Regions from separate parts of the Homo sapiens genome. Here region 1 is linked to region 2. The links are contacts of gene promoters, found by promoter capture Hi-C in blood cells and fetal thymus (Javierre and others, 2016). All regions are on one chromosome and are shown on one strand. The core of a region is centred on a gene start or on the middle of the fragment in contact, and the rest is flanking DNA. Distances in the headings are between cores, read along the strand shown. Region 1 has its middle 170 kb from the start of TRIM33. Region 2 holds the start of TSPAN2 (tetraspanin 2).

Evidence for each region. Contacts are between HindIII fragments. The CHiCAGO score rates a contact against its expected background, and 5 or more counts as called.
Region 1: a contact is called between a fragment that was not itself captured here and the fragment with the promoter of TSPAN2 in region 2, in 2 of 17 cell types (total CD8 T cells and non-activated CD4 T cells). The highest score is 5.4, in total CD8 T cells.

Annotation. Positions count from the first base shown.
Region 1 is chr1:114,335,454-114,341,161 of GRCh38, reverse strand. No RefSeq gene overlaps it. Among named protein-coding and RNA genes, the nearest start is that of TRIM33, 170 kb to the left of the region's middle. The HindIII fragment of the contact is 3,280 bases long and covers 1-2,890 here.
Region 2 is chr1:115,085,080-115,091,537 of GRCh38, reverse strand. TSPAN2 (tetraspanin 2) reads left to right here and starts at 2,035. Exons shown (of 8, transcript NM_005725.6): 1 at 2,035-2,174. The coding sequence starts at 2,106. The HindIII fragment of the contact is 10,227 bases long and covers 1-6,458 here.

The DNA of each region.
Region 1 (5,708 bases), core at 1-2,500, 750 kb after region 2:
TGGTATCCTCCCCACCTCCTTTAAGGGCATGTCCTGGAGATGACCCATGCTGTGGTTTGAGTGATGGTGTCCCCTCCAACATTTACATATTGAAACTTAATCCTCATAGTGGCAGTATTAAGAGGTGGGGCCTTTTGGGAGATGCTTAGATCATGAGGGCTTCTCCCTTGTGAATAGGAATAAAGCCTTCATAAAAGAGCCTTCACAGAGAGTCTGGCCCTTTTTTGCCCTTCTGTCATGTGAGGACATAGCATTTTTCACCTCTGGAGGATGCTGCAACAAGGCACCATCTTGGAAGCAGAGAGCAGCCCTCACTGACAGCAAACCTACTGGTGCCTTGATCTTGAACTTCCCAGCCTCCAGAACTGTGATAAATAAATTCCTGTTCTTCACAAGTTACCCGGTCTCAGGTATTTTGTTATAGCAGCACAATGGATGAAGATAGCCCACCTTTCTTCTTTCACTTCATTGGCCAGAGCTGGTTATATAACCATATCAGCTGAAAGGAGGCTGGGTTAGAGAGAACAAGAGAGTGGATATTGATGGAGAACTTCAATTTCTACCCCAGACTTCATCAGTTAGCCCCCATCAAGTCAGGTTGGATCATTTTTATTACCATTCCAGCCCTCTTGTCTATTATAACTACCATGATTATCTTGTCTTTTGTAGTTAAGTGCCTGAAATCAGCTTCTGCTATTCTGGTATCTTTCCTTTTCCATTAAAATCAGGGATCCCATTTCAACTGCTTACAATTGCATCTTTAGTTTACGGAAATCAGTCACAAGACTGCTTCTCAGAGATAGAGGTGCTCCCTCACCAATCTGGGCCCTCTTCTGGGCCCTCTTGAGAGAGAATTAGCAGATGAATGGGTAGGTGACACATGATAAATCCTCTCCAGCACTTCTATATTCCGAAATTTTTGGATTATTTCTTCCATTGTTTCATGGAATTTCATTTCACATGAGCCACTGTTGAGCCCACATTTCAAAACAACTGACAGGCAGCAATTAGGGCCACTTGCAATGGCTGGAGATAGCACACTGTCTCCTGATTTCTGGTGAGCATACTCCTGATTAATTTCAGGCTGATTTAAAATAATGCACGGTGCTGGACACTGTGGTGCACCACTGTATCCCCTCTCAGAAATGAAGGACTTACTCTCCCAGCTGCTGGGAGTGGGCCCTCAGCCAGCAGCTCACTCTGGGGATGCCTTGAGTGAAGAAATGTCCCTAGCCCAAGGTCATGTCCCCATCATGAAGCAGCCACATCCAACGACTGGTCAAAGTTGGGTTAACAAAGGCTGGCTCCTTGGTTCCAACTCAGAAGAGCTCTAAATGACCATCTAGCTCCAGAGCTATGCTAATTGTGCGCACAGCACAACTGCTTCCTTGCCCAAGGCTGCTTCTGTCCCTTCTGCTCCACAGGGGTGGTCTCAAGCTCACTTCCTGATAAAGGTCTTGCTTGCTAATCTCCACCTTAGAATCTGCTTATCTGAGTCTTTTGGTGGGGATTTAACTTTTTAAGTAATCAAAAGCTCCACTTCCTGCTTCCAGGTCATGCGAGAGTCTGACTCTATTTACAGACTTATGAGCCATGAGTGACGGCGTGGAGGAAAGAGGCATGAGCAGAGCTGGCTTCTTTCTGTGAGGAAGTCTGTGCACAGAGTTAGAGCATCTTCAAACTACGCAGGAGCAGCCTCATCAGACAAGGGAGGGACATGCCTTTTAGCTGGCAAGAGAGACCCGGAGGGTTCCATGTTTGGTGTTCTATGAGTCTCCGAGATCTTCCCAAATGTCCTTATTACAATTTTGGGGGTCGCTGTCTTTTTTTGGGGCGGGGACATGGTTTTTCTCTGTCGTCCAGGATGGAGTGCAGTGGTGCAGTCTTGGCTCACTGCAGCCTCAACCTCCCAGGCTAAGTGATCTTCCCACTTCAGCTTTCTGAATAGCTGAGACTACAGGTATGCAACACCATGCTCAGTTAATTTTTTTTGTAGAGATGAGGTCTCAGTATATTGTCCAGGCTAGTCTTAAACTCCTGAGCTCAAGTGATCCTCCTGCCTTGACTTCCCAAAGTGTAGGATTATAGGCGTGAGCCATCGTGCCCCATGTAGGGGCCACAGTCCTTTCTGAACAATGCCCTATCCTTTATATAACATACCTAGGGAGTTTTGATATAGAAGTTAAGAAATTACTTAGGCAGATAGTGAGGGTAGGGAAGTCCTCAGTAAGATTTTCCTTTTAATGAAAAGCAGCCCCAAATCATTTTCCCTTCTAACAAAGAGCAGCCTGTAAAATTGAGCTGATAGATACCGGCAGTTGTGCCAATCATGTTCAAAATGGTGGCCCCATCTTCCCTTCTCTTTATCAGCCACGTGTACAGTAAAAAGGAGACAAGGTGGCACGGGTCAGCAGGAGAGTTCATTTACATAATAAGATTAGGGCAGGGTAGCCAGCCTTCCCCGGGGCTGTGTAAACATCATACCTGATCCAACCAATCTGTGAGCCCTACGTAAATCAGGCGACATCTCCTCAAGCTGGACTATAAAACCCAGTGCCTCCTCCACCAGCTGGTCATTTTCTGTTGGGAGACCCCTCTCTAGAGAGAGAGCTGTTTCTATTTCTCTTCTCTTCTCTCTATTAAATCTCTGCTCCTAAACTCCTCGTGTGTCTCCCTGTCCTAAATTTTCCCGGCGCGAGATGACGAACCCCAGGGTATATACCCTGGACCATGTAGCTGCTTCAGTATGTCACCTCAGCAGATGTTGAAATTTGGCAATGCACTTCTGTGCTTGGCTTTCAGCTATGCTAGCCTTAAAAGACTGTAAATAAGATATCATTTTAGCACATTACTGGAAAGTCTTTGAGTTGGACATTTAGAGATTTAAGCTTGTCTTCTTTTTTTTTTTTTTTTAACTCTCTTGTTCTCTTGGGAAAAGCTACATTTACAACAGTCTGTATGACTCAAGCTCTTCATTTCATTCTATGCAAGTAGCGATATGGTCTTCAAAGTTTTGCCTTAATGAATTCTTCATTCCAGGTGACTATAAGTGAGCATTTAATTTGAGCAATTTACCACTGTGAGCCACTGACTGCCAGATTCCCTGAATATCAACTGGATTTTAGTATTCTGACTAGACTTATAACCAATCTTCCGGCAAACTCTCCATTTCCTTGTGGCTCTGTCTTGTTGTAAATTTCTTTACTAGTTGGGGTTCTTCAGTGCAAACAACAGTAACCCACTTTGGATGACTTAATCAGAAAAGGAAATGATTTAGGGAGGATATTGGATAGCTCACAGAGACTGCAGTGGGGCTGGAGAACCAGGTTTAGAAAATGAGCAGGAGCCAGGGTAGGATGGGGTGGGGTATACTATGGCCACCCCCACAGGATGCAGATACTCCTGCTTGGACCAACACAGGACGCTGGATGTTACCACTGGCGTCATTTGAATGAAATTTCAGCTATCCCCTGCTTTTTTGTTTCACTAATGAACAAAGCATTGAGCAGAATTAGCTGATTGGCAATACTTGGGTCATGTGACTCATGACCTCAGATGTCATGGAGAGTAAGTATCTGGCCTTTTGGACTTTTGGAGAATTAGTGGGTGTGATGTCTCCGACCAAATCCATACAATGGGAGAGCCTCTGGCATATAAAGTAGGTTCATAAGATGCAGAGCAGAAACCGAACAAAACCAAACCAAGTTCATTACATCCCTCTCCCTCTTTTCTAATAGATTTCCAGTCATTTCCACTTGGATACCCGACAGGCTGCTCAAGCTCCCCATATCAAAACTAGAGTCGTCATCTAACCGAATATGCTTCTTCTTCATCCCTCTTACATCCCTCAACTCAGTTGGTGACATTTGTCTCCATTCATTCAGTTGTCTCAGCTAGGATCCCAAGAGGCTTCCTTGACTTACTTTCCATATCCAATCAGTTACCGTGTCTTTTATTATTTATTTATTTATTTTTCCCAAGATAGAGTCTCGCTGTGTCATGCAGGCTGGAATGCAGTGGCACAATCTCGGCTCACTGCAACCTCCGCCTCCCGGGTTCAAGCAATTCTGCTTCAGTCTCTCAAGAAGCTGGATGACAGGTGCGTGCCACCTTGCCTGGCTAATTTTTGTATTTTTAGTGGAGACAGGGTTTTACCATATTGGCCAGGCTGGTCTCGAACTCCTGACATTATGATCTGCCCTCCTCGGCCTCCCAAAGTGTTGGGATTATAGGCATGAGCCCCGTGCCCCACTTACCCTGTCTTTTAGATTCTACCTTTTAGGTGTTTCATCGATTTACTTCTTTCTTATCTTTATTGCCATTACCCTATTTTAAGTCCTTATCATCCTCTTATTTTTTTTTTCTTTTTTCTTTTTGTTCCTCTTTCAATACCTTCTTAACTGGTATGTAAATTAGTTACTGAAGCAATAATTCTTGAAACTAACCACCCCCAAACCCAGGGATTTACAATGACAAGCATTTCTTCCTCATCTGAGTGCCTACAAGTTGGCTGTGGTTCAATAACCTTGGATTGGGCTTGGCTGGACCTGCCTCAAGTCCCAACTGCATGTTGGGTTTAAGTTTGCCCCATTTGTCTGTCATCCTTCTGGGATTATTGACACCAGAGGCATGCAGCGACATGTTCTTCTCATCGTGGAAGGCAGGAGCACAAGTGCATTAACTCAAACATGCAGGCACATTTCAAATCTCTACTTGTGCCATGCCTGTTAATATCCTACTGGCCAAACTGAGTCCAAAGACAACATGTGGGAAATGAATGGCACCCACCATGAGGACATGGAAGAGGTGTGGATGTGTAATGTTACTATAGTGAAGTGAAGAATTAGGACTAATAATTCAATCTATCACACATGGTTTCCCTGCCTCCAGTCTTGTTCCCCTCTCTCTGCTTCACACTGCTTCCAGTGGTATCTATCCAAAATGCCAATATGAATTTATAATCTTATTGCTTAAAACTTTGGTTTTTATAAGAAAATTGCGAAGGTGTGTCAATAGGTCCTTCATAATTTGACCACTGGCTGCTTCCTCAGTCTCAATTCCTGCCACCTCCACATCCCCACGTCGTCCACTCTGCAACTTGATCTTTAAGATTCAGAAATGGCCTGGTGTGGTGGCTCAGGCCTGTAATCCCAGCACTTTGGGAGGCCGAGGTGGGTGGATCACGAGGTCAAGAGATCGAGACAATTCTGGCCAACATGGTGAAACCCCATCTCTACTAAAAATTCCAAAATTAGCTGGTCATAGTGGTGCATGCCTGTAGTCCCAGCTACTCAGGAGGCTGAGGCAGGAGAATGGCTTGAACCTGGGAGATGGAGGTTGCAGTGAGCCAAGATTGCACCACTGTACTCCAGCATGGTGACAGACAGAGACTGTCTAAAAAAAAAAAAAAAAAAAAGATTCAGAAATATGCTGCTATCATGATTTTACCTTCATGCCTTTGCTCATGCTATTCCTTTGTCTAAGGTGCCTTTATGCCTCCATTCAGCAGGCTAATTCCTATTCTGCCTTCAGCCCTTAATGGAAACATCACTTCCTTCAGGATGCTTTCTCTGTAATCCAGTTGCTGGGCCCCACAGTGGCACCCCAGATATTTTTGTGGATTTACTGGTCATTCTCTAAGGCCATAAGCCTTTTGGGTCTTCATACCTGATATGATGTCTGGCCCATAGAGGGCATTTCTCACACTT
Region 2 (6,458 bases), core at 786-3,285:
CAAGGGTCAGCTTCCCTTAAGACATACAACTTTGTGAAAGGGCGACTGGGCAAGTCTATACTAAAGATCTGAAACTGTTATGTTGGACAGGCAACCACCATCTGTCTCTAATACATGTGTGCTAAAATCGTAGCATGAAAAAAACAAACAATAGATGTATATGTTACAATAGGGGTTCTCTTCCCTCTATATAATCTCTAGACATATTTTGTCTTAGAGATGTAAAATTCAACGATATATTTAAAGTATAATATCATTGTTCATTCAGTTGATTTACTGAACGCCTTCTATGTACCAGACACTACTCTTTAACTTAGTTCTTTTCCTTTATACTAAAACAGAGGTGACAGATATAGAACTATAAGTGTTTGATTGAAGCTAATGATTCACTTCTCTCTGCATACCTAATGACTTCCATCTTTGTCTTTATTTCATTGTTGGAGACATGTTTATTACTAGAATCAGCACTTTCATTTTTCTGTCTTTGACTCGTTTTTATAAATGAGTCGATATTCAAACAAATGTCCAAAGACACAGAGGTAGGCAAAGATGGCAACATGGTAGAAACTGAATGGTTGACTGATAAGAGTGTGATACAATAATACTAACCCTTATGCAGTACTTAATCTGTGCCAGGCACTGTTCTAGGCACTTCACAAATACTAACTCATTTATCTTCACAACTCTATGAGGGGAGTACTATTACCTCCATGTTGCACGTGGGGACACTCGGGGCCAATGACAGTTTGGCACATTGGTCAGCCGACTGAAAGCTGTGATTTGGCTCCTGCCTTCCTGACTCACTCTGCCCCCACCAGGCTTCACTCGGGCTAACTGCGGTTCTCAGAACTCCCTTGGAGGCCTTGTTCTCTCCAGCTCTGTGCTTTTGCGCATGCTGTCTTCCTGGACTGATCTTTTCCGCCTGGGCTCCGTCTTCTAGACCAGATCAGGCCCCTCTCCTTAGCAATGCCTTTTCTGGTTAAGGCAGTCAGGCCAGGCACACCTGTCTAGCACCCAGCCCTTCTCTCCTCACCCTATTTGCTTACAGATCTGTCTCCAACACCAGAGACTGTGGTTCTGGGCCTGGCTGTCTCCTCATTGTTGAGTCCCTGGGGCTTGCTACTATGTCTGGCCTATAATAGGCACTCAAAGTTTTGCTGAATTTATGCATAAGCTCTCCGAATTTTGCTTTCTTGTCTCCCCCATACTGTCTGACACCACATATTGTAGACACTTAGTCAATGGAAGTGGGAGTCTGATTTTCCTGCCAACAGCCTAACTTAATAAAAACAAAGCAAAACAAAAACCGCCCCCTTCCCCTTTCTCCCATCTCCACATCATAATTAAGATCCCGAAAATTTGGGATCCTTCCAAGCCCTCCGATCAGTGGAACCCGGCAGGACATGAGAAGTCAGACTCCCTCCACTGGCCGGCTGGGTTGAGGGCAGCCCACAGGACTCAGGGCGCCGCCTCCCGCACCCTCTCTCAGTTCTTGCCTATTAAGGTAAGAGTCCCCCGAGGAGGGGGGAGGGGCCGGAGGGAGGGTCCCCTAGAAGCTGCTTGTGTGCTTGCTCCGCGCCGCGGAGCCGCAGCCCTGGACACTCAGTCAGGTGCCCCGCGACTGGTCCTGCCAGCTTCGGGGCAACCTCCGACCCCACTTAGCTCTTCTACCCGAGGTCACCTTCCTAGATTTCCATAGCCACGAGACCAAGTGCTTATCCCTCAAGCATCGCCCGGGCCTCAAACCGGTCTCCGCACAGGGCGCTGATTAAATGGGTCCCCAGTCCCCGGTGGGCGCTCCCGCCCTGCAGGTGCTCCGATAGCCGGCGGCGGTGCGCCCACTGGAGGGAAGGAAGGTGGTCCCTGGGTCCGGGAGAAGAGCGAACGTGCTCCCTCGGGCTGCTCGATCTCCACCCGCTGGCGCCCCCACCCGTCGCCAGCCACGCCGCTTGGGGTCCACGCGCCCCTCCCCGCCGGGCCCCGCCCCGCCCCCCGGAGGCCCCGCCCCGGTCCTCCCCGCTCCGCCCCCTCCCCGCCGGAGCCTGCCGCTCCCCGCGCTCGTAGCGCGGGCCTGGGGACTGGGGATCCCGCCGCCGGGCCGCAGCATGGGGCGCTTCCGCGGGGGCCTGCGGTGCATCAAGTACCTGCTGCTTGGCTTCAACCTGCTCTTCTGGGTGAGACCAGGAGCCGGGAGGGCCGGTCAGGGCAGGGGGCCGGGTGGCGGGCGCGGGGCCGGGGTCCCCGAGCTGCTGACTGCGGCGTCCGAGTCGCGCTCGTGGGGAGGGCTGGGTGCTCAAACGCGGAGGCGAGGAGAAGGCAAACAAAGAGGGAGGGGAGGGATGGAAGGGAGAGAACGGGAAGACAGAAGGTTGATCAATGAGAAATGGTGAGAAGGGGAGAGACACCGTGTGGCTCTTTCCTGGAAGGAACCCCCACCTGCCTTGGTTTTTATCTCCCAGCTAGTGACCCCAGGTGCGGGGACCCAGCCTCTCCTCACCTCCGGAGGACTTGGGTCCCTGTTCCCCTCCAGTCTCCCGTGCACACACCCCCTTTTCACTCTGCCTACCAGCTGGAACCAGGGCCTGGCCAGGGTGATGGGAGAGAAACCCCTGCCCTGGGGCTGCCTGGGGTGGTGCTCCATTCGAGTGTGTGGACACTGTACCTGGCTGTGATGGTTTTGTTTAGGAAATTGGAGATAGGAGTGAAAATTGTGGTGGGGGGGCGTCGTCCTTTTTCTGGGCATCAGGGTAAGAGTACCCCTGGGTGAGAGGAGGTGGTGGGTTCTCTTCTGAGAAGGGGATGGGGAATGGAAGGGCTTCTAAAGGGCAGCAGCAGCTCTCCACAACCCCCAGCCGCAGCCTCTGCTAAATACTAATTCTCCCAGAGATGATCTCATTCAACTTTGCAGGGTTTGATTGAACTGACAGCGTTCCCAGGATTCATGGTTCACAGAGAGATAGGATCTTGACCCTTGTCTCCTATATTATCGAGACAGGGATACAGCTAGACCAGACCTACATCCCTGGATACCCTGTCCCAGGGCCTGCAGGACTGTGAGACAAGGTCTGAAAATTGTCTTTTCTGCACATTTCCTCTTGGGCTTTCTTAAGAGAATGTCAGCCAGTGTAACTGCTCAGCTAGACCCTGAGGGGAAACATTGGATAAAGAGGTTTGAGAGCAGCCAGGGCCTGGGTGCTTTGAAACTACCAGGTTGGAGGAGGTGGCTGTCCTATCTGCTCTGGGGGACGTTGTCTTCCCATGATTGCAACTAATTAATTATTGAATGATGGGCTCCTCTTTTGTCTGTCAATCCATTAGCCCAGATGCCTGGGTGACTTCAGCAACTCCAAGCTCTTCAGTATCCTTCAGCAGTGGAAGGTGTGAAGGAGGTACCTCCTCGACATCCCCTGAACTTTAAAGAGACACATGGCCTTTGTACACGTGGGGATTTACATCAAGCATACTATAGGGAGAGGCGTTTCTGAAGACCCTTTATGTTGTATTTTTTAGGAATCTGGCTTAATTTCAGAAGCTGTTAATTATAGATGTCACGCCACAGTGACAACCTTCATTCTCACTGCTTATGAATTCAAAGCCTTATGAAGTTTTAAGCCTGAGGAGGAATTCTTAAGCTGGGTTCAGTGCTTATTTAGTGGCTGATATTGTACCAGCCTTTCCAGTGATAGCTGGAAGGATTCATTGAATGTTTTCAATGTGTCAGGGACAGTGCTAAGCATATTACTTTCATTATTACACATAATCCTCACAAGAGTCCTGATATACATATACTATTATTATCCCCATTTTTTACAGATGAGGAAACAGGCTCAAATTGGTTAAGTCACCTAAGATCACACAGCTAGTGAGTGGCAGGGATGGTATTCAAACTCAGCCTACCTTCTCTTTTTTTTTTTTTTTTTTTGAGACGGAGTCTCACTCTGTAGCCCAGGCTGGAGTGCAGTGGCCCGATCTCCACTCACTGCAAGCTCCACCTCCCAGATGCACGCCATTCTCCTGCCTCAGCCGCCCAAATAGCTGGGACTACAAGCACCCTCCGCCACGTCTGGCTAGTTTTTTTGTATTTTTAGTACAGACGGGATTTTACCGTGTTAGCCAGGATGGTCTCCATCTTCTGACCTCATGATCTGCCTGCCTCAGCCTCCCAAAGTGCTGAGATTACAGGCGTGAGCCACCGCGCCTGGCCGCCTACCTTCTCTTAAGCACTGTGGTACATTCAATTAACCAGTGGTTCTCAAAAGTGGTTCCTGGGCCAGCAGCATCAGCATATCCTGGGAATTTGTCAGAAATACAAATTCTCAGGCCGGGCACAGTGGCTCATGCCTGTAATCCCAGCACTTTAGGAGGCCAAGGCAGGCGGATCACCTGAGGTCAGGAGTTCGAGACCAGCCTGGCCAACATGATGAAACCTCATCTCTACTAAAGTACAAAAATTAGCCGGGCATGGTGGTGGGTGCCTGTAATCCCAGCTACTTGGGAGGCTGAAGCAGAAGAATCTCTTGAACCCGGGAGGCAGAGGTTGCAGTGAGCTGAGATGGTGCCACATTGCACTCCAGCCTGGGCAACAAGAGCGAAACTCCATCTCAAAAACAAACAAACAAACAAACAAAATTCTCAGCTCATCCCAGACTTGCTGAATCAGAAACTCTGGGGGTAGGATCCAGCAATCTAATTTAACAAGCCATTCACATAATTCTGATCCATGCTCAAATTTGAGACCCATTCTGTTAAACAATGATTAAACAAATAATAATTTATAAATATAAACACAGTTCCCTAAGCTGCTCATCTCATTGAGGAAACGAGACCAGTGGATATGGAACAACACAAAAATAAGACAGTGTGGAATCAAGTGACAAGTTTCACACTGTTGACCGTAAGCACAGTAAGGAAAGGAAGTAGGAGCAGTGCAGTTTTAAGTGCTTGAATGTGTTAACCAGTGAGGTTAGATCCGACCTTCTCTATATGTGATCTAAGTAAGGAGTTTAGAGAAAGGATCACAGTCATGATGAGGAGCCAGAAAAGTTCTCCTTAAGAAGGAGCTATTCGAGCTAAACCTGGAAGGACTGGTAGAATGGAGCTGGGCAAAGCGAGGGGGTGACGCACCATCCACCAGCAGAGGAGCAGAGCAAGGGGGAGTGTGCGCCACCATCTGACTGTCGAAGCCATCAGGCTGGAGTGCAGAGATCCCAAGCAGGGCGTGCCTGCACAAACAGGGTGTACTTGAGCAAGTTATTGTTACTTCTAGGCTTGTTTTCTCATCTGTGCTATTGGAGTAACAGAAATATTGAGAGGATTAAGAGGGAATATATAAAGTATGTGACCTCAACTTCCTATGAGCCTAGGACATAGTAAATGCTCAAAAATATTAATTATTATTTTTGTTATCGGCACATAGGAAGCATTCAATAAATGTTAGCTCTCTTTCTCCTGATTCCTTTCTTGGTGGGGAATAGTATATAAGTTTGCCAAGTGACTTGCCATTTGTCTTCATTTGAGGATAACTACACCTTATCTTGTCAATTTGTACTTGTGGATTTTCCCCACTAGAACTTAAAACACTCTGAGAGCAGGAATTTTGTTTTTTCTGTTTTGCTCATAGCTGTATCCCCAGTGCTAGAATAGTGCCTAGCATATAGAAGGCATGCAGTAGGACATGAAGGACCTTCCTCTCCCCCAGTTTCATGGGGGGTGGGGGTGGAGGCAGCAACTAGAGCGAAGAGGCAACTGAAACAGGCACCTCATGACTTAAGGGAAAGTGTGGGATAAAGTATCTAGATATCTGCCTTCACTGTAACTGAGGGAACCTGATTCCAGAAAAGCCCCACTCAAGTTTCTAAAGTTGTTTTTTTGTGGTTGGAGGGCTTCGTGGGAAGTTTGGGAAAGGGGTGGGGGATAGTTTTCCTAGAAGGCCAGACTTTAGCTGTGACTGAAGTATAAATTTACACACACCCTTAGAAGCTCATGTGCCTGCCCCTCGGAGTTACGGGGTTCCTTGGGTGACAGCACTTCCTTCCAATCAGAACCTCGCCAGAAGTAAGCATAGAGGTGGGACAGGTTCTGTTTGGTGATCTGCGATTTAACAGATCAATTTGCAGCCTCCTCTGGCAGCTTGCTTTAAGTTTCCCTAGGCTGTGCTCCTGGTTTCATAAACATACAACCAGGCCCTGCCAGAGCCAGCACAGTATTCCCTGGCCCAGGGCCGCTGACTGTACTCACCACTGAATTTTTAAAAACAAAATAAAGCCTAGCCATTAACCCCACTACATTAATTTCTCTTATCGTGGTTGATGTCAAATGTGAAACCCCTCCCAACATCTGTCATGTCTAAATTCAGACCTGCGATCAGATAGCACAGCATATTCCTGTGCCTTTCATTGAAATCACCTTTTTTTTTCCTACGTTGCATAGCAATATAAATAAAACACTACACCCCCACC